Linked DNA regions of Homo sapiens: regions 2, 3 and 4 are each linked to region 1. Evidence: promoter capture Hi-C in 16 types of primary human blood cells and fetal thymus (Javierre and others, 2016). All regions are on one chromosome and are shown on one strand. The core of a region is centred on a gene start or on the middle of the fragment in contact, and the rest is flanking DNA. Distances in the headings are between cores, read along the strand shown. Region 1 holds the start of CAB39 (calcium binding protein 39). Region 2 has its middle 58 kb from the start of SP110. Region 3 overlaps SP110 (SP110 nuclear body protein). Region 4 overlaps FBXO36 (F-box protein 36).

The links. Contacts are between HindIII fragments. The CHiCAGO score rates a contact against its expected background, and 5 or more counts as called.
Region 2: a contact is called between a fragment that was not itself captured here and the fragment with the promoter of CAB39 in region 1, in 1 of 17 cell types (neutrophils). The highest score is 5.3, in neutrophils.
Region 3: a fragment that was not itself captured here is called in contact with the fragment with the promoter of CAB39 in region 1 in 7 of 17 cell types (total B cells, naive B cells, non-activated CD4 T cells and 4 more); the score reaches 10.7 in total B cells.
Region 4: a contact is called between a fragment that was not itself captured here and the fragment with the promoter of CAB39 in region 1, in 2 of 17 cell types (naive B cells and total CD4 T cells). The highest score is 6.2, in naive B cells.

What each region holds. Positions count from the first base shown.
Region 1 is chr2:230,707,744-230,715,047 of GRCh38, reverse strand. CAB39 (calcium binding protein 39) reads right to left here and starts at 2,206. Exons shown (of 9, transcript NM_016289.4): 1 at 1,818-2,206. It overlaps LOC124907996 (formin-like protein 16), which reads left to right and starts at 1,722. Exons shown (of 4, transcript XM_047446832.1): 1 at 1,722-2,969. The coding sequence starts at 1,722. The coding sequence ends at 2,480. RefSeq lists a silencer at 1,495-2,434. The HindIII fragment of the contact is 1,861 bases long and covers 617-2,477 here.
Region 2 is chr2:230,158,140-230,165,024 of GRCh38, reverse strand. No RefSeq gene overlaps it. Among named protein-coding and RNA genes, the nearest start is that of SP110, 58 kb to the left of the region's middle. RefSeq lists a silencer at 4,630-4,699. The HindIII fragment of the contact is 2,209 bases long and covers 3,847-6,055 here.
Region 3 is chr2:230,193,346-230,201,094 of GRCh38, reverse strand. SP110 (SP110 nuclear body protein) reads left to right here. Exons shown (of 19, transcript NM_080424.4): 10 at 130-210. It also overlaps a transcript of SP140 not described here. Among named protein-coding and RNA genes, the nearest start is that of SP110, 23 kb to the left of the region's middle. The HindIII fragment of the contact is 2,348 bases long and covers 4,903-7,250 here.
Region 4 is chr2:230,008,225-230,015,587 of GRCh38, reverse strand. It overlaps FBXO36 (F-box protein 36), which reads right to left. Exons shown (of 4, transcript NM_174899.5): 4 at 2,469-4,892. The coding sequence ends at 4,704. Among named protein-coding and RNA genes, the nearest start is that of SLC16A14, 57 kb to the left of the region's middle. The HindIII fragment of the contact is 292 bases long and covers 2,779-3,070 here.

The sequences.
Region 1 (7,304 bases), core at 957-3,456:
CAGTAACCAAATCTAAGTGGTAAGATTATAGAAAATGTTTTAAAGATTTTCTAGCACTCCCTGAATTTTGGAAGCTTTGACAAAGATCATGTATTATTTTGAAAAGCAGAAAATTTTTAAACTGCAAAAAGGTGGCATTCACTTGTCATACACGCAAACAAGTGCAAGCTTACAAAACTTAGGCCCTAAGCTGCTTTCACAGATCGTATATTCTAGATTTCGAATACAGCTGCTAATTACTTCCTAACAATTTGAACAAACTACAAAATAAAGCTAAACACTTTCACTTCTGGCTCTACTATAAAGATTTCATAATAAAATAAAATATAAAAACAAAGTTTTACCTTTCTGTAAAAGGTCTACGTCTGGCTTTCTACAGCAGAATATTACTAACCATTTTTTAAAAATCATCAATTTATGTTATTTTACACAAATGCCACCTCAAAGAATGTAGGTTTAGCTTAGTAATTCCAAAGTACATACGCCTAATACAAAGTGCAAGAAGTTTTTATGCACTGTAGCGAACGCACAAATAGAAACACCTTCTGTGTGCAGATGAGCTTATTTTATAGACACCTTTCCATTACCTCTTAAGAGCCTGATATCTAATGAAGCTTTCTGCAAAGGTACTTTGCTTAGCCTGGGCATGGATTTACTTGATTATCTGGGAAGCTGTCAAAATCGATCTGAAACTGCATTACATTCAAGGCACAGAATGTCAACTCCTGACTGGGCCTCCTCCTCTCTCCTTTCACAAGAGCGCCTTTAATATCCCCTAGCCTACATTTCCGGGCTCATGAGTCACTGAGAAATGAGCTCTAAGTTTCTCTTAGAATGCTGCTCAAATAGCTCCTCTACAGCATTCAAGGATCTGGCCCCAAAATACCTCTTTAGCCCAATACCCCCCGCCCCCTGCACCATGCCAACAAACGGAATTATCCATGATTTCTAGGCTTTGTCTTCTCGCTTTTGCTACCCCTTCCACACACCTCTTCTGCAATCCTCCTCTCCTAAATCCCATCAGGCCTTCAAGACTCTGCTCAGCATCCCCCGCCCAGGAAGCCTTCCAGGTTTCTGCGAGGCAGAAGTGATCGGTTCGGTTTTTCCGGGTGCCGTTCTAGCACTCCGTCGTTCTTTCACAGGACTTATCACCTCCTTCCCGGTATCGCAGTTATTTGTGTTCTCGTCTTATCTCTCACACCAGAGCCTAAGCTCCTCGGGGGAGGGGACCGGGGCCCGCTTCACCTTTGAATCCCTCCGGTGCGGGCCGACTACGGCGCCTGCACGCAGTCTGCGCTTGGGGTGGTTCCATTGAACTCCAGAACGCTCCGACCGCCCAATTCCTAACCAGAAATCAGTTAGGCATTTTCCTGAATTGGTCACAAAGCTGGTATCTGCCTCCCGACAACAGGAAGTTTACCAGGGGCGGGAGCGAGGCGCTGAAGCCCGGGTGCAGCCGGTGACAGTTGACCCGGCCCGCACTTCCCCGCCCGCCCGACTCCGGCCCGGACCACCACGCGCCGCCAGCCCCGCCAGAGAACCACGGGGGGAGAGGCAGGAGCGCCTGGACTGCAGGCCCCCGGGCGCCCCACGCCGGCGAAGGCAAAGGGAGCGTCTCAGCGAGGGACCGGAGCCGAGCCGGGCGGAGAGGGCAGGCTGGGCCCGGCTGCTCCCGGGGGCTCCGGGGACAAGCTGGGCCGGGGCCGCCGCCACCCAGGAAAATGGAGGCAGCCCCGGGGCCGGTGAGGGCCCAGCGGGGCAGGCGGAAGCCGGGCAGGCGTCCGCACCACGAGCAGGGCCGGCCGGGGGTCACTCACGGGGCTGGGCCGGGCGTTCCCTTCTCTGCCTCCGCGTCGTCGCTGTCCCCGTCCTCGGCCGCCGCCGCTTCGGGCTGCTCGTTCGGTCCCCGCGGAGTGGCTCGGACGCTCGGCCCCTCCGTTGTCTTCCGCCCGCTCCTGCTCCCGGCGACGGGCTCCCGCGGCGGCGGCGGCTGCGCGGGCGGACGGCTGCCCAGGGGCTCCCGCGGCTGCCGCCGCGCTGCTGCGCTCGCTTGGGCTGCGGCTGCTGCTGTGGGGCCCGGCGCCGCCTTAGTCTTCGCCTGTGCCCCCGCCCCGGCGCCTGAAGGCTCTGTGTCTCCCAGGCCGCGCCGCTCCCCGAACCCCTCGCCCCGCTTGCGGCCCGAGCCCGGCTTTGACGTGCGCACTGCGCAGCCGCCGAGGACGCGACGTCGGGCGGTGCCGCAACGCCCCCTTCCGCCTCGGGCGCCCCCGAGCGGCCGGCGGACTCAGGGCGCCGCAAGTAGGCGCGAGGCCCGAGCGGGAGGGGCCGCAGAGAAAAGCAGAAGCCAAGCCCCGCAGTTCCTCTTCCTCCGCCGCAGCTTCCAAGGCGGGGCTCAGCCCTTTCTCCTCCGCCTGAGCGCTCTTACTGCGGGAATCGCACGCCCACTTTCAACGACCACTTCCTCAACTCTTCAAGCTTAATTCTGCGAGAGGCCGGGATCCCACTTTGTGCAGACCGATTCTTACTTTCTTGGAGCAGATCGCTTCATTTTAGCATCCAGGGGGACACAGCATCCAGGGGGACAAGTGCCAGAACGTTCCAGATTAATGGGAATATTCCTATTTAAATCAGCAACCTGGATTTAAGTCCTGCTCCACCATTTGCTATCTATGGGCTGTTTCACGTCCCTGTGCCTGGATTTCCTCACACATTAAAAAAAAAAGTGTGTAATAATATAGTGGTACCAGCCACGGGCTTCTGAGGATGAACGGGACAGTGCATTGCAAAGCTCTGACAACGGAGCCTGGCACATACAAATGCCATATGTGTGTATTTTTGTTTCTTTGTTTTTAATGTGTAACTGAACTACTTTTTAAGCGCCTCCTGTACGTCAGGGATGGGGCAGTGAGCGAAACAGTCCATGCTCCTAGCACAAACAGTTGACAAATAATTGACTAATAAACCTACAGGTATGTATAATACTGGACAATTGGGCCAGGCGCGGTGGCTCACGCCTGTAATCCCAGCACTTTGGGAGGCCGAGGTGGGCGGATCACGAGGTCAGGAGTTCAAGACCAGCCTGGCCAACACCGTGAAACCCCATCTCTACTAAAAATACAAAAAACAATTAGCCGGGCGTGGTGGCGGGCGTCTGTATTCCCAGGTACTTAGGAGGCTGAGGCAGGAGAATCGCTTGAACCCGGGAGGCGGAGGTTACAGTGAGCCGAGATCGCGCCACTGCACTCCAGCCTGGGCGACGCAGCGAGACTATCTCCAAAAAACAAAAACAAAACAAACAAAAAACAACAACAAAAAAACAAATACTGGACAGTTAAAAACACCACTGGGTGAGGAGGGGAGAGAAAGCAGGGTGTTGTTATTTACAGTGTTCATTCAGGGAGCAGCTTCCTGGAGAGAGAGAGCCTGGGAGCTTTCTGTATGGAAAGGCAGAGGGAATAGCAGGACCAAGGCCCTGAGGCGAGAATCTGCTGGCTTGAAAGCGGCCCCAGATAGGGGAAGAGATGAGGAAGAAGTGCGGCCCTACCAACCAAAGTTAGGACTTCCTGTTTTTACTCTCAAGGAGATGGGAAGCAATTTGAAGGGTTGCGAGCAGAGAAAGGACGTGGAATGACATTTCAGGAGGATCCCTGTGGCTGTGGTATGAGGACCAGACTGAAAGCCCTGAGGGTTTCAGCAGGGGGACCAGCGAGAAGCCTGTTGAAATCAGCCAGCCAAAAGATAAGACTGTCCGGCCGGGCGTGGTGGCTCGCACCTGTAACCCCAGCACTTTGGAAGGCCGAAGCAGGGGGATCACCTGAGGTCAGGAGTTCGAGACCAGTCTGACCAGTATGTTGAAACCCCGTCTCTACTACAAATACAAAAATAACCCCAGCTACTTGGGAGGCTGAGGCTGGAGAATTGCTTGAACCCGGGAGGCGGAGGTTGCAGTGAGCCGAAATCGCGCCACTGCACTCCAGCCTGGGCGATAGAGGGAGACTCCATCTCAAAAAAAAAAAAAAAAAAAAAAAAAGATAAGGCTCTGTCCAGGGTGGTGGCAGTAGAAGAGTAAAATGATCACCTGTAGACACGTTTAAAAGGTGGCTCACGCCTGGAATCCCAACACTTTGGGAGTCCAAGGTGGGAGGATCATTTGAGGTCAGTTCGAGATCACCATGCCCAACATGGTGAAACCCTGTCTCTACTAAAAACACAAAAATTAGCTGGGCATGGTGGCGGGCACCTGTAATCCCAGCTATTCGGGAGGCTGAGACAGGAGAATCGCTTGAACCCGGGAGGCAAAGGTTGCAGTAAGGGGAGATTGCAATGAGCCAAGATTGTGCCACTGCACTCCAGCCTGGGCAATAGAGCAGTACTCAGTCTCAATAATAATAATAATAATAAAAGGTGGCTCACGCTTGTAATCCCACCACTTTGGGAGGCAGAGGAGGAAGGATCACTTGAGGCCAGGAGTTGGAGACCAGTCTGGGCAACATAGTGAGACTCCTGTCTCTAGAAAAAAAAATTAGCCAGGCGTGGTAGCATGTGCCTGTAGTCCCAGCTACTCCAGAGGCTGAGGTGGGAGGATCACTTAAGCCTGGAGAGTCGGGGCTACGGTGAGCTGTGACTGTGCCACTGTCACTCCAGCCTGGGCCACAGAGTGAGACCCTGACTCAAGAAAAAAAATAAATAAATAAAGGGTAAAGCTAAAAGGATTTTCCTGATTTCTAATTTTTTTTTTTCTCAAGCAACTGGAAAATACAATTTGGTGATATGGGGAAAATTTAAGCAGAAACAGATGTGAAGGGAGGAACTTGGAAATTTACTTAGGGACATACAAAGTTTGAGCTGCCTGTTGGACACCCAAGTTGGAAGTTGGACTTAAGAGTTCAGAGGAGAAGTCCTGGCGCGGTGGCTCACGCCTGTAATCCTAGCACTTTGGGAGGCTGAGGCAGGCGGATCACCTGTGGTCAGGAGTTGGAGACCAGCCTGACTAACATGGTGAAACCCCGTCTCTAATAAAAATACAAAAATTAGCCGGGTGTGGTGGCGTGCGCCAGTGGTCCGAGCTACTCTGGAGACTGAGGCAGGAGAATTGCTTGAACCTGGGAGGCAGAGGTTGCATTGAGCTGAGATTGCGCCACTGCACTCCAGTCTGGGTGACAGAGCGAGACTCGGCTCAAAAAAAAAAAAAAAAAAAAAAAAAGAAGACTTCAGAGGAGAAGTCTGGGCCACAGACAGAATTTAGGTGGTTCTCAGAGTAGGTAAAACCTCTGAATTCAGTGAGATCCTTTAGGATGTGAGTGTTACTACTAAGCCCAGTCCCCCAACAATGACAGGTCAGGGAATGGTAAGGAACCAGCAAAGAACCCTGAGAGGGAGGAGCCAGTTTGGTAGGAAGAGATCCAGGAAAATCTGGCCAGGTGAGGGGGCTCATGCCTATAATCCTGGCACCTTGAGAGGCAGAGGCAGGTGGATCACTTGAGGCCAGGAGGTCGAAACTAGTCTGGCCAACATGGTGAAACCCCATCTCTACCAAAAATACAAAAATTAGCAGGGCGTGGTGTTGCATGGCTGTAATCCCAGCTATTCCGGAGAGTGAGGCAGGAGAATTGCTTGAACCCAGGAGATGGAGGTTTCAGTGAGCTGAGATCACACCACTGCCGTCCAGCCTGGGTGACAGAGGGAGACTATGTTAAAAAAAAAAAAAAGAAAGAGAAGGAAAGAAGATCTCAGGTGATCCACTCAGGTGATCTCTACTAAATACAAAAAATTAGCCAGGCGTGGTGGCACATGCCTATAATCCCAGCTACTTGGGAGGCTGAGGCAGGAGAATCGCTTGAACCTGGGAGTTGGAAGTTGCAGTGAGCCGAGATTGTGCCGTTGCACTCCAGCCTGGGCAACAAGAGTGAGACTCTGTCTCAAAAAAAAAAAAAAAAAAAAAAAAAAGCCGAGCACGGTAGCTCACGCCTGTAATCCCAGCACTTTGAGAAGCCAAGGCGGGTGGATCACCTGAGGTCGGGAGTTCAAGACCATCCTGACCAACATGGAGAAACCCCATCTCTACTAAAAATACAAAATTAGCCGGGCATGGTGGCATGTGCCTGTAATCCCAGCTACTTGGGAGGCTGAGGCAGGAGAATCACTTGAACCCAGGAGGCGGAGGTTGCCGTGAGCCGAGATCGCGGCATTGCACTCCAGCCTGGGCAACAAGAGCAAAACTCCGTCTCAAAAGCAGGAGAGGAGGAGAAGGAAGGGGCGGGGAGGGGAGTCCCTAGAAAGAATGGGGGCCCTGGAAAGAAACCATTGGTTTAGACAACATTTTCATGAAGTTTTGTTTCTAATGAGGAGCAGAGAAATGGGGTGATGGCTGGAGGGGAATGTGGGGTCCGAGCAAATGTTTCGTTTTATTTCATTTTGTTTTGTTTTTAGATTGGGAGCTCTTCCAATGTGCTTAAATGCTGGTGGGAATGATTCAGTCGTAAGGGAAAATGTGATGATGAGGGTTGGGGGGTGTTTTCTGGAGAGCTGTCCCTGATTGAGTGAGAAGGGAAAGACGCAGAGTGCACTGGAAGGTCTGGCCTTGAATAGGAGCAAGGCAGGTGAGGTCACGGTTCCAAGAGGGCAGGCAGAATGTGGGCACGAGGCAGAGATCCAGGTAGACGAGGTTCCTGGAACTTGTGGACAGTCCCTTCTGAGGGCTTCGATTTCCTCAGGGAAACAGGAAGAACAGTCATTCATTCGCTCAGTGCAGAGAGGGAGGAGGTGTTGGAAGTTCCAGGGGAGAGGAGCAGGTGTAAAGGACCAGTTGGCAGGCTTATTCCATGTTTTTTAGCAGCCACATTTTGCTGGGAAGGTGGGGAATCTATTCCACCAGGGTTGTTTTTGCTAGATAATTCCATGGAGGGAAACAGGGGAAAGGAAGGTGAAGGTACAATAAGGAAGTAATAATTATGGTGGACTGTTAAATCCACACCTGTCCAGGAGGGAATGAGGAAGGGTTGTGGGCAGTGGGGGGAGAGAGGCCCATGTAGAAGTGGCAGGATCAACGGATGGTTGGAATCAGCACGGTAAGGGAGTGAGCTGGAAGGAAGAACATGCTGGTTGGAGAGCCAGGTCGCTTGCTCCCGAGATTATGGAAGGAGTGGTTTTCAGGAATGATAAGGCCTAGGGCAACTTCTCGAACTATGTGAATTTATAATGTGCATTTCCAGGGGCTCTTGAAGAAATGTAGATAATGGTTTTAGTGGTCTGGAGTGGACCCCTGATTCTGCATTTCTAACAAGCTGAGATGGGAAGGGGTGGAG
Region 2 (6,885 bases), core at 3,702-6,201, 550 kb after region 1:
TCAAATATAGTACCTTTTCATTCATCATGCCTGGCACACTGAGCCCTTTCGATATACATGCCTGGTTATTTTTGCAGCCCCATTAAACCTTACTGATCCATTTGTCCTGGGCTCACTTTCAAGAACATCTATTATCTACAGGCTATCTGCTCTCTGTTCTCCCTATTTATCATTTTTTAAAAATGTTTCAAGAAGCACTCCTCGTCTTAGGCCATTAGTATGAAACTGATATTAATATAATTGCAATTTGATAGTATTTAAACCTATTTTTTAGCATGTTAATAATGCTAATTGCTATTTTTAAACAAAAGTTCAAAGGACATAAACTTTTCTCAACATAATGCTTTTCTCAAGACAAAAATTGCAAATCATTACAACTTACTAAATTGTCCTGGTCTGTGTTTCTGGCTTTTCATTCTTAGTCTCCATGGAGGAGTAAGACCATCAAAAACCGAGGCCCTGCCCCATAAGGAGGCAGAACCTGTCCAGCAGGCCCCCTTCAGCCTCCCAGTGAGGAACTGGGAGTAGAGTGTGTTGGAGTTTCCATTTAGGTACCCAGTGTCACAGACTAATGAACAGAAAATGTATAGAGATTTCTTTTGCTCCTATTTCTCAGTGTTTTCACAACAGTGTGAACTGTGAAATAGATTGACCTCACCTATGATCCAGGAAAGGGCGGAGGCAGTTTGAGCACTGGCTCAAGAAAAGCATATAATAAAGTAGAATTCCCTTCATTGTATGGAAAGACAACAAATATGGCCATAAAGATGGCCACTCCTGGTGCCATTTTGGAGTGAATGCTGAGTTCTAGAGATGATGATTTTATCAGCCTAGACTTTAGACTTCCAAATCCTTCTGAGAGGTACACTAAAGGTTCCCATTCCTAGCATAAGCTCAATGCATTATGATAAAAGATTCCCCTCCCTACCAGTTTACCAGCAGCCAGGATTGCTGGGTAAAAAAATCTTATATCCATTCATGACCTAACCCTGTCTTCCGTTCTCGCATTGGTAAGCTGATCCAGGTCTGTCTGTCTATCATCTAATCATGGCTCTGGGTTTCTCTGTATCTTGGGCAGGGGGTGGGGGGTACCCTAAAGAGTCATTTATTTCTTTCAAGTTGAGACTTTCAAACACTAGCAGTTTGATTGCCATGACAGCCAAGACCCCTATTCCCGGAACACTCTCTTCCCTTGCTCCTGTTTGTTGCTGTACTGCTCCCCTGGTTTTCAAGTGATTTCTGCCTGCGAGAGCAGGGTTTGGGTTATTCTGCTTAGCCCAGCTGGTCCTCACCTTCCCCCAGACTCTCTGAGCTGTAGGTGCAGGATTTGCCCTCCTGGTCGTTTCCCACTGCTCAGGCCTCATCCACGTTCAGCACGTACCTCCTTAGATGTTAAAAACTCTTAATGAACCCACCATCAGTGATGCCCCTGCAGACAATGCCAATTGCCTCTCTCCAGGGACCCATTCCAGTCCTGCACCCAGGCCATAATAACATAGGCGTTAAAAAGAAATTATTTAGGCAGATAGTGAGGGTAAGGAAGTCCTCGCTGAGGTTTTCCTTTTAATGAAAAGCAGCCCCCAAGTCATTTCTTTTCTAACAAAAAGCAGCCTGTAAAATTGAGCTGCAGACATAGATAAGCAAGCTGGAAGCTTGCACGGGTGAATGCCGGCAGCTGTGCCAATGGGAAAGGGCTATCTGGGAGCCAGGCATGTCCAACACGGTGGCTCCATCTTCCCTTTTCCTTGCCAACCACATGTACAGTAAGGAGCAGACAACATGGTGCTGACCAAGTAGAAAACCCATTTGCATAATAATAAGATTAGGGTGGGGTGGCCAACTTCCTCCTGTGCTATGTAAATGTCACATGTGGTCCAACCAATCTGTGGGCCCTATGTAAATCAGACACTGCCTCCTCAAGCCAGTCTATAAAATCCGGTGCATTTTGGCGTGGGCTGGAAGACCCACTTGGGCACTCCTCTCTCTCTGCAGGAGAGTTATTCTTTTTTCTCTTTCTTTTGCCTATTAAACCTCCACTCTTTCTTTTTTTTTTTTTTTTCTGAGACAGAGTCTCGCTCTGTCGCCCAGGCTGGAGTGCAGTGGTGCAATCTTGGCTCACTACAAGCTCTGCCTCCCGGGTTCACGCCATTCTCCTGCCTCAGCCTCCCAAGTAGCTGGGACTACAGGCGCCCACCACCACGCCCGGCTAATTTTTTGTATTTTTGGTAGAGACGGGGTTTCACCATATTAGCCAGGATGGTCTCTATCTCCTGACCTGGTGATCCACCTGCCTCATCCTCCCAAAGTGCTAGCATTACAGGCGTGAGCCACCGCGCCCGGCCAAACGTCCACTCTTAATCTCACTCCAGGTGTGTCCATGTTCTTGATTTCCTTGGCATGAGACCACAAACCTCAAGTATTACCCCAGGTGAACAACACTGCTTCAATTTCTCCCATCTGATCCAGCTGGGTTCCACTCTTTCCTGAACCCTTTCCTCCCCAACTGGCCAGGGAGCCTGCATCAGCTCAGGACTACCTTCAGGTTATGATGTGGGAGGTTTTACATGACTCCAAAAGGTTGCAAAAATGGAACAACAAAAAAAGCTTTCTTATCAGGAATGACTGGAGGAATTACATGTAAAAATACATTCCCCCCTCTAGCTGATAGCAGAAATTCCACCTTGGAAGATTCATTCTTAGAAACTGGGGAGACATTGTCTCCTGGTGAAGTGCAGCCTCCCTCAGGAGAGGTAGACTTCATTGGCATCAACATCTGGAGTGGGTACATTTCTCAGATGCTTTCCAAGCTCTGGTAGAGCCAGGCCTTCAGAGCAAGCTCACATTCTGCAAGTAGTTATGGGAGTCGGTGGGCGGGGTCAGTCCTGGCAGGTGCCTTGGACTCTTTGCTTTCCTGCCCTGAGCCCTGAGGACCCTGACTGCTTCTCTTTCGTCCCAAAGCTGCTCCAATGGAACTCCTCCCCTCTTGAAATTAGGTGTGGGGACTATGGGATTCACAACTCTCCTGTCATTCTATCTCTTCTGTAATTGTGACTTAGAAAAAATGCACAGACCGTATTCATTTTAGCAGTCATTCCCCTATGAAGTGACATGTGAAATAATGAAATCAAGAAGGCACTGTCTTGCTCTCTTCACCTCTGGTCTCAACTGGGCCATTTGAATCTCCAGAACCATCTAGAACAAGGAAGACCACCTGGCGAAGTCCCTCCCAGCACAGGACTCCAGGCAACCTGGCACCAGTCATCCCCATTGGACAAGACCAGAGCTCAGATGCATTGGCAGAGGGGACACTTTTCCCCTTTAGCAGCTACTGGCGTCTGATCATTTACAGAGAGGTTGGGTAGAACCCTGAGGAACCCATGATAGCCACTTTCCAGAAGACAGCCCGGGGCCTCAAGCAAAAACTCAATGGTGAGGACAGTCACCCAGACCTGGACACAAGGCCCAAGTATGAGCAGAAAGGGGTGGTTACACGTCCAGGATGTCAGCTGATACTGAAGCATCTGACACACTGTTCTGAAACAGAGTCTGTTGGATGTGGAGTTAAGGTTTTGACTCACTAAATGCTCTGCCCTAGGGGATAAAGTGGAAATGTCCTTATTTCGCAAGGGCAACAGCGAGGTTTCCAGCCTTCAGGCCCAGCAGTGGTTCTCCAGCTTCCACAACCCAGACCTTAAGCACTGTGGTTGCAGCATTCAGACCCCGGGCCACAACTGTGCCCAGCTATCAAGGCCGGGATTGAGGGGAGCTGACTCAGCTGCCCCCATGACTTGGTTCAGAATTGACTCACGGGCCTATGAAAGTGCTCTGGGGGTACCTGTCAAAGCTTGGTCTTGGCCAGTGAAAGATAAGCATTCAAGTTAATGGGCATATGTTAGTACTCACCAGCAGGAAAAAACTAGAGGCTTCAGTGCATCCTAGGATCCTGGGGGAAGAATTGTCATGTCCTCCTAAGAAGGCAGAATTGGTCCAAACAAGGGACAGTGAGGAGGGCAGGGTAAACAAGCCACTCCTTGCCACCTACAAGTGCCAATTTGCCCTAAATTTTCCCAGACAGAGCCCACAGGTCAGATTTTGATGTTTCTGTATCTGGACCATGACCCAGTTTGTATTCATAGCCAATCCCTAATCTCATCATCATCTCAGTTTCCAGTTCCTCAAAGAAGTTTACCCTTGAACCCCTAGGCCTGGTTCTGGCTCTGTGGAGGGCTCAGGCAGAGCAGAATGCATACAGAGGCTTTCCCATTCTCCCAGGATGGGCACAGGACCTAGCCCTGAGAGCAGCAGGCACCCTGGACTTCTACAAAAGTGTGCCATAGGCCAGGCACGGTGGCTCAAGCCTGTAATCTCAGCACTTTGGGAGGAGGCGGGTGGATCACTTGAGGCTAGGAGTTCAAGACCAGCCTGGCCAAGATGGTGAAACTCTACTAAGAATACAGAAATTAGCCCAGTGTGGTGGTGTACACCTGTAATCCCAGCTACTTGGGAGGCTGAGGCAAGGGAATCGCTTGAGCCTGTGGCGGGGTGGCGGAGGTTGCAGTGAGCCGAGATTGCACCACTGCACTCCTGCCTGGGCGACAGGAGACTCTGTCCACCCTCTCCCTACCCCACAAAAAAAAAAAAAAAAAAAAAAGTGTAGCATGCTGTTCAACCACCAGAGGGCACTGTGGGCCCCTCCAGAGACGGAAAGGAATTGAGCTATTAAAGCTCCTGCAAGGACAAGGAACTAGCAGAAAGAAGTAGTGAAGGCTTTGAAGGGGAGGAAGATGCTCTCAGTGGCTCCTATTTCATGCAGATGGAGGAAAACCAACCAAGAGCATGCGCCAGGTCCTCTCCAGATGAGACTGGCAAAGACGAAGCAGCAGGCAGTCACGTTTAGGCACATGCTTGCGAGGATTTCCTTACTGTGACAAAAGGTCCCTTCTGTTGTTTGTCACAAGTGCAAAACCTCACAGCTAGCATAATGAAACAACTGAGATGCACTCAGTAACGTGGGCTGGAAAAGGATCCCCAGTTTTTCGTTTCATAGATTGGAATCTGGTAGGAGGCCCGCCTGGGGATGGCCGGCAGCAGGCAGAGACCTGGATTCTAGATCCTCCCATTTGCAAGAATGTCCCAGGTGACCTCCTCTCGGGGATGCTAGAGGATGAGGACAGGGTGAAGAAGCCAGCCTACTGGGGGAAGGGGGGTCTTTGGGACCAATCAAGAGTGCTTAGAGAGGGGTCCTCTGAGATATCTGGACACTGACCGCTTCCCAATGAATTGCCTATGGCCCGCTGCTTCAGAATCACAGGGAGCTTGCCTAAAATGCAGATTCTGGGATGTTGGCTCTGGGTGGGAATCTCTAGGATTCAGGCCCAGGAATCTGTGTTTTTAACCAGTTGAACAAGTTTTCTAGGTGATTTTTGTTTGTTTGTTTTGTTTTGTTTTGCCACAATTAGGTTTGAGATCCACTGCCCTACGACTGGTCCTTTATCTGACTTAAACATTTGACAAAGGAGCAAATCTAACTAAGGTATCTGTGGTGTGGGCAGCAGTAGAGCCTGCAACTTAATCACAAGAGCTGTCCTTGTCCTGTGAGGTGACAACCGAGAGTTTATTGTTTGGTTGATTGCTTGGTTTGTTTAATTGTAATGTTTTGTAGTTTAATTGTTTATTTATTAACAGCTTTCAGAAACAGTAATAAGAATAGAATGTGAAGCCAACTGCAGAAGAAAAAACTAAACTGAGAAGGGAACTAAATAAAAAAGCAGCTGGGCAGATGAGATTTGGGGGTGCAGGGAGCAAGCATGTGGATGGAGGGAGGAGATTAATATTGAGCCATGGTCATGAGAACTTCAGAGAGAGATGGATGAGTGGAGGTGGCCCACACGGTATTCTCTTTTAGTGTTAAAGTCTCACCAATGCACCACGACGTAGCAGTCTCTCGTTGTGACGTATTACCTGGAGTTCTTTGTCTCATGACCCAGAGAATTAAGGAGTGTGGACACAAAAGGTGAGATTGGAGCAAAAGTTTTCTAAGCAAAAGAAGAAAGCTTTCTGCCATGGAGAGGGGGCCCAGAAGAGGGTTGCTGTCTTTACAGTTGAATGCAAAGGCTTTTATAAGAAACTGATGAGGGCTGGGCATCTCATTTGCATAAGACACAAATTTCTGTTAGCTCCACCCCATCCTCCAAGTGTGCATGTGGGCCCTTAGCTTAGTGACTCCATATTGCTTTGTTCCCCTTACTGTACATGTGTTACGGGACAGAACTTTCCACTGCAGGCGTGTCTGGGTGAGTCACCTGTGTAGCTTTTCTTATCTATGTGGCTGTGGGCGTGTCTTAGGCAAGCCCCTCTGTGCAAGTTGGCTGTTCTTTTGTTTGAAAGAATTTAACTGAGGGCCCACCCTAACTGCCTGCCTGACTGGCTTCTTCCTTTCTCCTCTCTCGGTAGGTCATGGATTGGCTCCTGCTTTGACACCGCCTTGAGGGACTTAAGATGTTGGCATGATTTTTGAAGCTTTTTATTGGATATTGGGTTGATATTATATTTGAACATGAAGTCACCCTGAGGTGTGCTGTCAGGTGGCCCCATTGTATTTGGATACAGGCAGCTGTGAAATGCAGGGGAGCAGTTAAGAATATTAACAGGTCCCCAGTTGAAATGCTTTAATGGCAGTGGTACATGGCCTGTTCCTACCCCACCCAACACACGTCACAACCCCAACCCCTACCCCCAAAGCCTATTCTCAATATGGCAGCCAGACTTAGCCTGTTAAGATGAGTCCAATCCTACCTACTCCACCTTCAGGGTGAGAGCACCCCCTCTGAGGCCTGTATGAGGGGCTTCTCCCCTCCCTCGTAGGTCTGCTGCACCCACTGGCCT
Region 3 (7,749 bases), core at 4,827-7,326, 520 kb after region 1:
ATTGTTAGGAGGGTAAGACCTGGAGCCTCCAAGACTCAACTTCAGAGTGTGCAAGGGCCTTCCTGGGTCTCTGGGAGATTCTCCATGGTGTTTCCCAAGGGGCATTTACTAAGATCTTTCATTTTCCAGAGATCATTGATGGCACTTCAGAAATGAATGAAGGAAAGAGGTCCCAGAAGACGCCTAGTACACCACGAAGGGTCACACAAGGTAAAACTTGGAGATTGCTGGTCTCAGAGTACAGTCACCAGGAATCTAAATTCAGAGCTGTCTTACACTGAGGCAATATTTCTTAACTTTTTTTTTTCATTATTACTGTGCTAGAGAGCCCTTCTGGATTTTTTTTTCTTAATCAAGACCCTTCCCATGATATTTACTACTACAAATATATGTCCATTTTATGTAATGTGTCCATATGTATGTATGTATATCTGCACTATATAAGATTTTTCTCAGCACTCAAGAATGAGTTTTTCCACTACTGGCAGCAATATCACCATTACTGAGAATGAGTGTCCTAAGTATATTCATGGTACTATACTGAAAGTACAGCTTGTCGAAAGTGCAGCTTGATCCAACCCATGGATCAAGCTTTTTCCTAGAATTCCAATCTCCATATTTCTCATGTGGCCTTTCTGAGAAAATTGAGAAGCGAAAAACTCATTAAAACACACATGTGACACTATGACTGAGCATGTACAACTGGTGGAGTTGTGGGCATGTGCTGGTAAAATTGTGCATGTTAATTCACCCCTCACTATCGCTACCATTATTCACATTTCTGGAGTAAGTTGATAACACTATCCTTAGAGGGGAAAAAACAGCTAGATATTCGTCTGTTTGCTGGTGATATGGTCATTGTCACAAAAATCACAGAACTCTCACATGACAAATGTGATTTTCAAACAACAAATATCTAATTATTGTCAGGAAAAATGGATTAAATTTTACCACCTTAAAATCTAAATTATCATTTTAACAGTTTCTCCTATATTGCACTGGCTTATCTAGTAGTATTTCAACTTTTCTCATGGATAATTTTATTTTATTTTCACAACCACCCTTGGAGAAGATTGAATGACCTATTCCAATTTAGCAGATGAGGAAATTAAGATATGGAAAGGATTAATGGATTTTTTTCAGGATCCCCTGGGTAAGGGCTGGCTGCCACCGGGTTAACAACCTGGTCCCCAGGAACTCTTTTCAGGAGCCATCGTTCTCCATAGAAAGGAAGGGGCAGAAAGAATACTGTCAAACCTTTGTCAATTCACTATTGCCCAAAATAGAAAACTGCTTATTCAAAAATTACTTTCTCATTACTTCCAAGATCCTATGGATAATGGAAATAAACTCTCTCTGGGAAAATCTCCCAGGGCAGAGCATAAGTGTGAAGAAGAAACTATTTGGTCTCTGTGGTGTGGATTGATGTTACCTTACTGTTATTATGCCATTCTAGGCCATAAAAGACATCCAAGCCAGAAAAAGCGTTATGCTTTTTAAAATCATGATTTCACTTTTTTTCAACATAGAAAAGTTCCTGGACTTTTCTAAAAGCAGTGTGCTGTCACCATTAGGATTATGTTGCTGGCCCAGCACAGTGGCTCATGCCTATAATCCCAGCACTTTGGGAAGCTGAGGTAGGTGAATCACTTGAGGCCAGGAGTTCGAGACCAGCCTGGCCAGCATGATGAAACCCTGTCTCTACTAAAAATACAAAAACTAGCCAGGCGTGGTGGTGGGCGCCTGTAATCCCAGCTACATGGGAGGCTGAGGAAGGAGAATCGCTTGAACCCAGGAGGCAGAGGTTGCAGCGAGCCAAGATCACACCACTACACTCTAGCCTAGGTGACAGAGTGAGACTCTGTCTCAAAAAAAAAAAAAAAAAAAAAGAGGATTATGTTGCTGTGTGTGACAGCAAACCTCACCCCACTAAAAAAAAAAAAAAATAATAATAATAATAATAATAGTAGCTAAAGCAAGAGAGGTAGGTGGTCAAGAGCTGGTGTCATACACTGTAGGGTCCTGGGCTTATTCTTGCTTGTTGCTCCATCATCCTCAGCATGTGGCTCCATCATCCTCAGCATGTGGCATCCCCTTTATTGAGGTCCAGCCAGCATGTCTATGTTCCAGCTAAAGAGAAAATGGCAAAGTCAAAGAAGGGCACACCTCCTCCACTGAAGGACTCTAAATGCTTCCGGTCACAGATAGTAATTTGCTATCATTAATAATTTGCTATTGGGAGGCCGAGGTGGGTGGATCACTTCAGGTTGGAAGTTCAAGACCAGTCTGGCCAACATGGTGAAACCCCATCTCTGCTAAAAATACAAAAAAAATTAGCTGAGCCTGGTGGTGTGCACCTGTAATCCCAGCTACTCAGGAGGCTGAGACAGGAGAATTGCTTGAACCCAGGAGGCAGAGGTTGCAGTGAGCCAAGATCATGCCACTGCACTCCAGCCTGGGCAACAGAGCAAGACTCCATCTCAAAAAAGAAAAAAAAATTCTATCATTTTATTGCCAGGACTGGTTGCACGGCCACACCTGACTTCAAAGGAGGCTGGGAAATGTAATCTTTAATCTATAAGAATAAGGGGCTCAGAATCAGGGGCTTTATTACTAAAGAAAAAGGGAGACCAGAGAAAGAGGAACAACTAGCAGTGCTCACCCTGCCCATGTTTATGGTGGGCATTATGACTGCCCTCCTCTAGTTCCAATTCTTCTCCCCTTCCCAGACACTTGGAAAGCTCCATTATCATCCCCCTTGCAGGAGGCAGCTCTGCTATACTAGCTCTGGCAAATAAGCCAGAGAGATGGGTGTCACTTCTGGGTCACAGCATGTAAGAGCCCATTGCAGCTCTCCACATTCTTTTCCCGCCTGTGGAAGTGTGTGGAAGAGGGAGGCGCCAGAAGGCCAAAGCAGCATGACCTACCACATAGAGGACAGCAGCCCTGGAGGGCCCTACAGAGGACTTCCAGTCCTACAGAGGGTCCTATTGTCCTACAGAGAACTTCATGTGATAGAGAAATACACTTTTCAATGTTAAACCACCAAAATTTGGTTTCATTTGTTACTGCAGCACAGCCTACCCTGTCTTGTGTGATACAATATTCCTAATAAAATCTTCAGTGTAGAAAATTGTAAATCAGGCTAGGCATGGTAGCTCACACCTGTAATCCCAGCACTTTGGGAGGCCAACATGGGAGAATTGCTTGAGCCCAGGAGTTTGAAACCAGCTTGACAATGTAGTAAGACCCTGTCTCAAAACAAAGAAAAAGAAAATTATATGGGGAAAGGATTCCCTATTTAATAAATGGTGCTGGGAAAACTGGCTAGCCATATGTAGAAAGCTGAAACTGGATCCCTTCCTTACACCTTATACAAAAATTAATTCAAGATGGATTAAAGACTTACATGTTAGACCTAAAACCATAAAAACCCTAGAAGAAAACCTAAGCAATACCATTCAGGATATAGGCATGGGCAAGGACTTCATGTCTAAAACACCAAAAGCAATGGCAACAAAAGACAAAATTGACAAATGGGATCTAATTAAACTAAAGAGCTTCTGCACAGCAAAAGAAACTACCATCAGAGTGAACAGGCAACCTACAAAATGGGAGAAAATTTTCGCAACCTACTCATCTGACAAAGGGCTAATATCCAGAATCTACAATTAACTCAAACAAATTTACAAGAAAAAAACAAACAACCCCATCAAAAAGTGGGCGAAGGATATGAACAGACACTTCTCAAAAGAAGACATTTATGCAGCCAAAAAACACATGAAAAAATGCTCATCATCACTGGCCATCAGAGAAATGCAAATCAAAACCACAATGAGATACCATCTCACACCAGTTAGAATGGCAATCATTAAAAAGTCAGGAAACAACAGGTGCTGGAGAGGATGTGGAGAAATAGGAACACTTTTACACTGTTGGTGGGACTGTACACTAGTTCAACCATTGTGGAAATCGGTGTGGTGATTCCTCAGGGATCTGGGACTAGAAATACCATTTGACCCAGCCATCCCATTACCGGGTATATACCCAAAGGATTATAAATCATGCTGCTATAAAGACACATGCACACGTATGTTTATTGTGGCACTATTCACAATAGCAAAGACTTGGAACCAACCCAAATGTCCAACAACGATAGACTGGATTAAGAAAATGTGGCATATATACACCATGGAATACTATGCAGCCATAAAAAATGATGAGTTCATGTCCTTTGTAGGGACATGGATGAAACTGGAAACCATCATTCTCTGCAAACTATTGCAAGGACAAAAAACCAAACACTGCATGTTCTCACTCATAGGTGGGAATTGAACAATGAGAGCACATGGACACAGGAAGGGGAACATCACACTCTGGGGACTGTTGTGGGGTGCGGGGAGGAGGGAGGGATAGCATTAGGAGATATACCTAATGCTAAATGACGAGTTAATGGGTGCAGCATACCAACATGGCACATGTATACATATGTAACAAACCTGCACATTGTGCACATGTACCCTAAAACTTAAAATATAATAATAAAATTTTAAAAAAAAGAAAATTATAAATCATAAAGTTAAACATCTATTTAATCTGCTTCCCCCACTTTATTTTTGTATAAGTATGCATACATTTTTCTTTTTATATATAAGCTCATACTATATAGTCTATTCTATAAATCACTTTTTTCATTGTGTATCATCTCTGTATCAATGTTATCTATTTTTTTAACTGCATGGCACGTTACGTATGATTCACCGCAATTTGTTTAAATAATCACCTACTAGTGGACAGTTTATTTCTTATTTTTATATGAAAATAGAAATCAGGTTTGTGTGTATTTGTATCTTTGCACACTTGTCCAATAATTTCCTTAGAATTGATTCTTAAACACAAGCTTACTTGGTTAAAATCTATATCTTAATTATACATGTTACCAATTTGCTGTCCAGAAAACATAATGATTTATATTCCCTTTAACAATATATGAGTATTCATTTCCTACATCCTCAATGCTGGATGTAATAAAACTTTTTAAATGTTTAGGTATCCTTAACATCCAAACAATGAGTTTCTTTGATTAGTAGTAATATAGAGATGATTTCTAAATAAATTTGTCATCTTCATTTCCTCCTTGAGCATTTTTAACTTATATTTTTTGCTTATTTTCCTAGATTACCATTCATCTTTTGCTTTATCTAATAAGGATATTAACCTTCTATATGCTATGTATATTTAAATTTTGTTTTTGCTTTAATAGTGTCGGGGTGTTTTTTGAACTGTGAACAGTTTTTTTCAGTCCTGCTCCTTCTGTATATTTTTAATTTTTTAAACATTCAAATCTGTTTATCTCATAACTGTGTAATTTCTGGCCCTGAATTTTGGCTAGGAAACCTTTTAATATCCATGGTTTATAACAATCTTTGTCTAGTCTTGAAAAACTGCTTATTAATTTTAAAATTAATAAGGCATGCCGGCTCATGCCTGTAATCCCAGCACCTTGGGAGGCTGAGGCAGGAGGTTCACTTGAGTCCAGGAGTTCAAGACCAGCCTGGCCAACATGGTGAAACCCCGTCTCTACTAAAAATGCAAAAGTTAGCCTGGGGGTGCATACCTGTTATGCCAGCTACTCAGGAGGCTGAGGTGCGATAATCACTTGGACCCAGGATGTGGAGATTGCAGTGAGCTGAGATTATGCCACTGCACTCCAGCCTGCATAACAGAACAAGACTCTGTCCCCAAAAAACTTTTTAAATGACATATATTAAATGTTAGTCCTCTAGTATATTCCTGATCCATCTTTATTCAATCCCCTAATTCAATTTCCAGCTAAAATGGAGTACTTTTTTCACATAGGTCACATGGTTTTCTTGCCTTCTCAAAGTCAGGGAAAACAGGAAAAAAATTACTTAAAAAAGTAATGACATTGCAGGTTTGTAGATCAATATTTGTAGCCATAAAAGATGTGGGTTTTTTCTTTTTTAGAAAAAAGGAGAAAAGAATATGGCCAAGTTCAAAAAGAAAACAGAAAAAAAAAATGCCCAAGACATAAGGAAGAAAAGTGAAATTGTTACTCTCTTGGTGTTTATCAGGCCCCTCACCTGACCAGCTGGCATGACCTCCTCTCCAGCCACATGTGCCTGGAGCACAGCCAGCCCCAACCTTGTCCCCTAGGCCACCCCATCAGTAGACTCCCCAACAAAGGAAGAGCAAACCTAACACCAACTTGGTTTATACCTAGTCTTCTTTTCTCTTATCATAGGGAGGGAATGGGGTTGAGGTGGACATGAGGCATCAGACAATTTTGAGATTAGAATTGTTTCCTGTCTAGGGTCAGAGCCCAGAAGAATAGACACAAGAAACCTAAATCCCCAAGCAGGATTCAGACTTTCAGTTCCAAACTGGATTAGATTTGGAGTCATAGAGTGTTCAGAACTACCTCAGTCAACCCATGCTTGCTTGCATGCCTGCATGCATGTGTCTACTCCAGTGCACAAACTGTGTTACTTGCAGAATAAGAAACAAAAAAGCTGCATTTTTCTGGTTCCTCTGCTTCATCCCACTTTTCTTTTTCTCCTCTGTATTCTCTCCCTCTTCCCTTTCTGTTCCTTTCTTTTTCCCTTTTTCTTTTTTTAATTTATTTTGTAAATTTTTTGTATAGACCAGGTCTTGCTATGTTGTCCAGGCTGGTCTTGAAATCCTGGCCTCAAGTGATCCTCTTGCCCTAGCCTCCCAAAGTTCTCGGATACAGGTGTGAGCCCCTGCACCTGGCCCCTTTTTCTTTATTCTTTTACTCAAAATTATTCACAAAGGGCCTAAGATATGCCGGTCAGTGGGGATTCTCTTGGATTCTGTACCTTTATGGGAGCCAGCCTGGGAAGAGATCTTGTCCCAGCTCCCAAACATGAATTAGGACATGAGGCTCACTGCTTTGGAAAGCCCTCTAATTTTTCTGCTTGTTCCCAGCATGCCTCAATCTTGGGGTTTGGCCTAGAAGGAAAGTCATATCTGCCTGCTTGCACTTCCCCTCCCTGGCCTCTTCTTCCTAGTTCCCCACCCCACTGCCTCCCTAGGCTGGAGGAAACATACTCTCTGTCATTTGCTGAGTGTTCACTACCAATGACTTATAGGAAAACTTGACATTCAGACCTCCAAAGTTTTCTTTTGATAGGTACAGGTAATTTTTGGAATTTATAAATTCCTCTTTGCTCCCAACAAATACTGTGCTTCAAGATTTTGTCTAAGCTTGCCAAAATGGCCCCAACTGAGCAGTGGCTTCTCAATTCTAGCAAGCATCTGCCCTCCCCCTGAAACCTATTGATGTAATAGTCAGGGAAATCTTTACTATTTGCAAGGATGAAAAATACATGATTCCTCAGCAGAAACCTTACAAGCTGGAAGGGATTGGAGTCTTATCTTTAGTCTCCTTAAACAGAATAACTCTCAGCCAAGAATTTTGTATCTGGCAAAGCTAAGTTTTATGAATGAAGGAGAAATAAAGTCATTTTTAGACAAACAAATGCTGAGGGAATTTGTCACTACCAGACCAGCTTTATAAGAAATGCCAAAAGGAGTTCTAACTCTTGAAACGAAAGATTGATATGCACCAGAATACAAACTCTTGAAAGCATAAAACTCACAAGGTCTATAAAACAATAACACAATGAAGAAAACAACGTATGTAGGTAACAATTAACATGATGACTGAAACAGTACCTCACATCTTGATATTAATGTTCAACATAA
Region 4 (7,363 bases), core at 1,675-4,174, 700 kb after region 1:
TTGTATGTTTGTAGAAATCAACCACGAAAGCCATCTGGTCCTGAGATTTTCTTCACTGGAAGGTTTTTAATTGCTTCTTCAATCTCTTCACTTGTTATTCTGTTCAAGCTTTCTATTTCTCATCAATTCAATCTTGGTGGGTTATACTTTTCTAGGAACTTATCCATTTCTTCTAGGTTATACAATTTGTTGGCATATAATTATTCATAATAGTCCCTTATGATTCCTTTTATTTCTGAGGCATCTGTTGGAATGGCTCCACTTTCATCTCTGATTTTATTTGAGTCTTCTTTTTTCCTTAGTTTAGCTAGGGGTTTGCTGATTTTGTTTATTTTTTCGAAGAACTAACTCTTGGTTTTATTGAGTTTTTCCTATGGTTTTTCTGTTCTCTATTTGATTTTTTCTGTTCGAATCTTTATTTCCTTCCTTCTGCTAACTTTGGATTTAGTTTGTTCTTCTACTGGCTCCTTGAGATGTAATGTTAGGCTATTTATTTAGGGTATTTCTTTTTCCTTTTTTTTTTTTTTTGAAACAGTCTTACTCTGTTGCCCAGCCTGGAGTGCAGGGGTGTGATCACAGCTCACTAGAGCTTCGACCTCTGGGCTCAAGCGATCCTCTCACCTCAGCCTCCCAAGTAGCTGGGACCACAGGCCTGTGCCACCATGCTGGGCTGATCTTTTTATTTTTTGTAGAGACAGGGTCTCCTTATATTGCCCAGGCTGGTCTTGAACTCCTGGGCTCAAAGGATCCTCCCGTTTCAGCTTCCCAAAGTGCCATGATTAGAGGAATGAGCCACTGCACCTGGCCTGGGGTCTTTCTTCTTTTTTAATATAGGCATTTATTGCTATAAACTTCCCTCTTAGATTGCTTTTGATATTGTGTTTCCATTGTCATTTGTCTCAAGATATTTTTTATCACTTGATGTTTTTAACATGACATCAAAGACATCCATTTCAAGTTGAAACCAACTACTCACAATTGAAAAGCTTGGATACGCTCTCACAGTATATTAATACAAACTGAAGATAGAGGTCATTATACTAAAACTCAGAGCAAAAAACTGTGATGAACTTTTCTGTTTTTAGTAAGGTTGTTTTATATTATTCTTCGGTATTTCAGGAGTCAGTTTGGGGTAATAAATAAAGACTGATAACCATTATATACACAAGCAGCTCACAAAACAATGACAAGTGGTACCTGGTGCATTGTCCTTACCCCTGCTTGCAGTCCCTCCCCACATGATCACCTCAGCCTTAGTTCTGGGGCCTACTCAGTAGAAGAAAACATTTTAGGCCGGGCACGGTGGCTCATGCCTGTAATCCCAGCACTTTGGGAGGCCAAGGTGGGTGGATGACGAGGTAAGGAGTTTGAGACCAGCCTGGCCAACATGGTGAAACTCTGTCTCTATTAAAAATACAAAAATTAGCCCGGTATGGTGGCACATGTCTGTAATCCCAGCTACTTGGGAGGCTGAGGCAGGAGAATTGCTTGAACCCAGGAGGCAGAGATTGCAGTGAGCCGAGATTGTACCATTGCACTCCAGCCTGGGCGACAGCAGCAAGATTCTGTCTCAAAAAAAAAAAAGAATGAAAAAATTTTGGATTCTATATTGCTGAGGCTTAATGCATACATATGCCAACCTGTTTGGGAAAAAAGTAGTAGTAGAACTTGACATTAAGTAAAATATGTTTATTATTTAGTTATAAATTAAAAATATGTATTTTCTATTGTTAATAGATTGTTCTTATACCACTAAATATATAAACCATTGGAAATTTTCAGTATTGTATAATTACAATGGTAAATGAGAACAGAGTAGAAACACAGTTGATTGAAAAGATGAAAAAGGACAAGATTATAAAATGCTGTAAGGCTGGGCAGCGTGGCTCACACCTGTAATTCCAGCACTTTGGGAGGCTGAGGCGGGCAGGTCACGTGAGGTCAAGAGTTCGAGACCAGCCTGGCCAACATGGTGAAACCCTGTTTTTACTAAAAATACAAAAATTAGCAGGGCATTGTGGCAGGCTCCTATAATCCCAGCTACTCGGGAAACTGAGGCAGGAGAATCACTTGAACCCAGGAGGTGGAGGGTTCCATGAACTGAGATTGCACCATTGCACTCCAGCCTGGGTGAAAAGAGCAAAACTCTGCCTCAAAAAAAAAAAAAAAAAAAAATTGTGTGGCATTTCACTCTGAAATGTTAAGACATAAAGCAGATTTATCCATCCACATGAAAGCAGAAATAGAAATGAAAGCTGTTAATAGAAGCAGAAAGTCAAGACCATCGCTGCCTATTACCATGTTATGGGATCGTCACATGGAACCTCACATGGAAAATGAGATGGGGGAGGGAGGGACAAAGTGTTTCAACCACTGAGGATGCTGGGGAGACACAGGATGTTCACTTGATGATATTGTTCCTATTTTGGCAAAAACAATTGTAATCAAGTAATAAGGCACTCAGATTATTATGGCAAGTAAGTATTAAAATAATTTAATAATCTGTATTATTTTAGCTATTATTTAACAATAGTTAACATATTAATGGCTCTTTTTTTATTTACTTTAGCATTTATTTTTATAACATTTTTATATGTAATATTATTATATACTACATATAAGTATATATCGTAAGTATAATATATATGTGAGTAGGTATATACATAGTGTTTTCAAATTGCCATATTTATGTTCTTATTGATTGAAGCTGAATCAACTATTGCGCATGTCCATAAGCTTTCAGAATCTGTTTGTTGATAAAATACTACACATGAAGCTTTAATCATCTTGCACTGATGTTACCAATAAGTTACAGTTACATATTTATGAAGTTATGTTGACATACGTAATTGTGGTTGTGTCTGCATCCTCACGATAAAACCTACGTTCTGTCATTGAAAATTAGGCCATGAGTGAAGTCTGGGAGCTCAGGGAGAGCCAAGGCAGCTAGAGCTCTGCAGAGCACGTGCCTTCTTGCTCTCAGCTGCCTGCTGGTTACCTTTACCTGTACCTGCCCTAGCAAACTCTCCTAAGTGGAGAATGAGGCCTGGGTCTCTTGACAATTAAAGCTTTGCTCTGTTCTTGGACTAAATCCAGACATAACCACGTCAGGCTCCTCATCTGCTGGGAAGCAGATTGCACTGGATTTCACAGTCACGGAAAACTTTTGACTGTGTGTACCTCCAGCAATGAGAAGCAGAGAGGGCTAGGTTGACGGTCTCAAACTGGCACCGGGGAGCCCCGTGACTGGGTTTTAAGGGTGTGTGAATGAAGATTAAAATCTTGTTTGATATTAACATGGGTTCAGTTTTTTTTTTTAATGTCACTAAGCCATGCTGTAGAGCCCTTCTGGAAGGACTTAGGTGGGACAAAGAGCCAGAGTCCACAACTTCTGTATTGTTCACAGGGCCCTAGTGCATCCTGGGAAGTTTCTCTGGCACCGGAGGTGAGTTTTCCTAGGTAGGAAAGTGAAGGTTGCAGGAAAGAAGAAATTATAAGGCTATATTATAATGTGATGTGGAAGTAGAAAGCTACTTTGCTCTGTAACCTAAAAGGAGTCATTAGATTATTTGCTGCTATGAGTTCATTTTCTAGGGGTACTTAATAATCATGAAAGTGCAGGGAGAAAAACATTTTTAAGTAAGCCTTCTCAGTGAAGTGACCTTTCTCCCCAGGACTGTATTCTTTTTACCCCTCTGCCATGTTAACAGCATGCAAACCATATTTACATTTTTACTTAGTTAACTCATAGTCTGTTTTCTTAAATATCCTTGTTAAAAGTGGTAGCTGTTCACATTCCTTTGGGGAACAGCATTTCTCTAAGAAATGTTTATAGGTTTTAGCCAGACATAGTGGCTCATGCCTGTAATCCCAGCACTTTGGAAGCCAGAGCAGGTAGATCACTTGAGGTCAGGAGTTCAAGACCAGCCTGGCCTACATGGCGAAACTCCACCTCTACTAAAAAGAAAATACAAAAAAAAAAAAAAAAAGAAAAGAAAAGAAATGTTTATAGGTTTATTTAACAATGTGAAGTAGTCCTGGGAAGTTGTACTTTGAGCAAGGTCCGCAAGCAGGATGCCTGCACTTCTCCAGTCATGCTCCAGCACCAGGTCGGAAGCTGTCTACATGCGGGGATGGACCCTGGCATCCTGGGCTCACAAGGATAGGGCCCTGAATATGGACTTAGCAGAACAAAGTTGGGAAGGCAGCTGCACCCACCCTGAGTGCCTCCCGTGGTACGTGCCCTTCACAGTTCCTGGTGGGGACACTCAGCCACCAGCTTCATGGCTGGACGCAGACGACACAATGCCAGGAAAAAATTCAAAAGCCCCATTACCCTTTCTAATGCCTAGATAAAATAGATGTCTAATAAAAACCTGCTAATAATCATTTATTGTTTGTTTATATACAATAGAAACCTCTTTTATAATGGGTGTGGGATAAGGATGATGATGGCCTATGGGGCTCCCTGTCTTACAGCCCTTGTCCTCGGGCCATGATTTGACCTCAGAATGACGGTGACTCTAGCAAGGCACTGGGGAGCCAGACTCTGCTGCATTTGTGTGCAAATCCCCTACGAGTTTCAAATGGCTCCACGCATCAACAAAACCTCTTAGTTCTTAAGAAAAGGAGACAGAAGAGATTTGGACACTGAAGAGAAACACAGCCATGCCTGAGCTCCCTGCTGGTAGGAAAATGTGTGCCTAAGGTTGCTTTTCTCTCAGGTTTCCATATTTTTGTTTCCTCTTGCGGAGCTGCCGCTGGAGCTGGAGCTTGTTGGTGAAGAACAGCTGTCTCCAGCCTGTGTCCTCCGCCAGGGCCCTCACGTCAGGAGTGATGGTGTCGCAGGTCGACTGGACTATCTGTTCCCACAGTTTATCAGACATGCACAGCTGTGGGTGGGAAAAGTCAGAGGTGGGTTACAGCACACATGTGTTAACTCATTATCAAACTCTTGCTGCCTGTGGGACACTGGAGAAACACTACCTGTGCCAGACACAGGTCCTGCCTTGAGAAACCTCCTCTTTGAGGAAAACAGCCAGACACAAATATGTAAGTGCACATATATCTAAAGGACATACCCTTCTGCACACACTTAAACTTCCCAGTGACGGCAGTAGAAAGAACATCCTCCTACCAACACCAGGCAACACAACACTCCCTCGTGCAAGGGAAAATGTGTTATTCTCCACCTTCACCCCCACCCCACTGCGGCCAAGTCCCATCAGTCACTGTCAACATCTGGATGAAGTTTGTTGCCTCTAGTTAATTCCAATTCATCTCTATTTATCTATGTATGTATTTATTTATTTTTATTTTTATTTTTGAGATGGAGTTTTGCTCTTGTTGCCCAGGCTGGAGTGCAATGGCGCAATCTCGGCTTACTGCAATCTCTGCCTCCTGGGTTCAAGTGATTCTCCTGCCTCAGCCTCCCAAGTAGCTGGGATTACAGGCATGCGCCACCACACTGAGCTAATTTTGTATTTTTAGTAGAGACAGGGTTTCTCCATGTTGGTCAGGCTGGTCTTGAGCTCCCGACCTCAGGTGATCTGCCCACCTTGGCCTCCCAAAGTGCTGGGATTACAGGCGTGAGCCACTGTGCCCAGCCTTATCTATTTTTTTATCTATCTATTTATTTTTTTTAGACAGAGTCTCACTCTGTTGCCCAGGCTGGAGTGCAGGGGTGCGATCTCGGCTCACTGCAACCTCCGCCTACTGGGTTCAAGTGATTCTGCTGCTTCAGCCTTCCAAGTAGCTAGTACTACAGGTGCACACCACCATGCCTGGCTAATTTTTGTATTTTTTTTTATAGAGACAGGTTTTCGCCACGTTGATCAGGCTGGTCTCGAAGTCCTGACCTTGTAATCTGCCTGCCTCAGCCTCCCAGAGTGCTGGGATTACAGGCGTGAGCCACCGTGCCCGGCCGGAAGTTGTATTTATAACTTTCTCCCTCTACCATCACCCCATCTTCTGTCTGTCTTTAGCCAGCACTTCAGCTCATCAAGATGCTACCCCTGGTGATGTGATCCAAACCTTCTCCAATTCCTGCAAGGTGTGAGCACTTCTTGGTCTTGAAAGTAGAAGATGTTCTATTCTTCTATTAACTTTTGCCACTGCACACCATAAAAAAAGAATGAAACCATGTCCTTGCAGCAGTGTGGATGCTGCTGAAGGCTGTTATCCTAAGCAAAGTAACACAGAAATGGGAAACCAAATAGCGCACATTCTTACTTGTAAGTGGGAGCTAAATCTTGGGTTCACACAAACATAGGCATGATTGCTGTCCCCTCATAATGGAGCACCAGGGCAGCCTCCCTGGCCCATACCCAGCTTCCCCCTGCCCATCCTACCTCCTATCCCAAACAGCACCAGCCCTGGCCAGCCCTGTTGTGCTGTGCCCCCCTGTGTCCTGACTTCCTCCTGGGGAGGAAGAAATGTGTAAGTGTGACCTCTACCTCCTGACACCACTACGTTCACTTCTGAACAGAAAGCAGTCACCACTCCTTCCTTCCATACTTCATGATCTTCTAAAAGTACTCCAATAAGGGAAGAGAATGAATTACAAATAGAAATGAATAGTACAATAAGGCATAATTGCTTAAGATCCTTTCTGCGCAAACATCAACACAACAGCTATTATAGTCACATAATGGTTATTGCTAAACAGCAACACTGAATCATATGATATCTACAGACCTTAAAGCATTTTGATGTTAGAAGGGTCACTCATTATCTTATCTCTCCTTCAACAGTCCTTCAAGGTTTAGTTCCTCTACTCAGATTACAACCTATTCTAAATATAAACAAAGGAAAACTTTAAAAATGTCTTAATATGAAAAACAGATCATTTGACCTTCCTTTAAAAGATCTGAACTCCAGCACCAATGTGGATTACTATCCCATTACTAGCACAGTACATTTCAGGATATCAATGTGTCTTGTAATAGAGATTATGGGTGGAAACTACAAGATTTGGGGGGAAAGGAAATAATTCTCAAAAGAGCTAAAATTTCCACTAGTATAACTTCATTTATGACTCATCAAATTTTATACTGAAAATATTTACAGTTTTGTTTTATATTATAAGTTCGTGTACAAAATACCCCCATCTATGACTCCCAAACCCTGACGATCTTTTGCTTAGTAGTTGCCAGGTTGCAAAACGAAAGGTTCTATAGTTTTGGCTACTCAGATCCAAAGCCCAGCTAACCATGGATTTAGCGCCCCCCGGTGGTGGTGCATGAATTTTGCATACATAAATTGTCAAGTTGAAGAGAATCTTAGGGCTTATCTATTTAAAACCTCTCCCTTTGCAAATAGGAAAACCAGGGCTGAGAGAAGAGAAGGGAGAAGGATGCTGTTC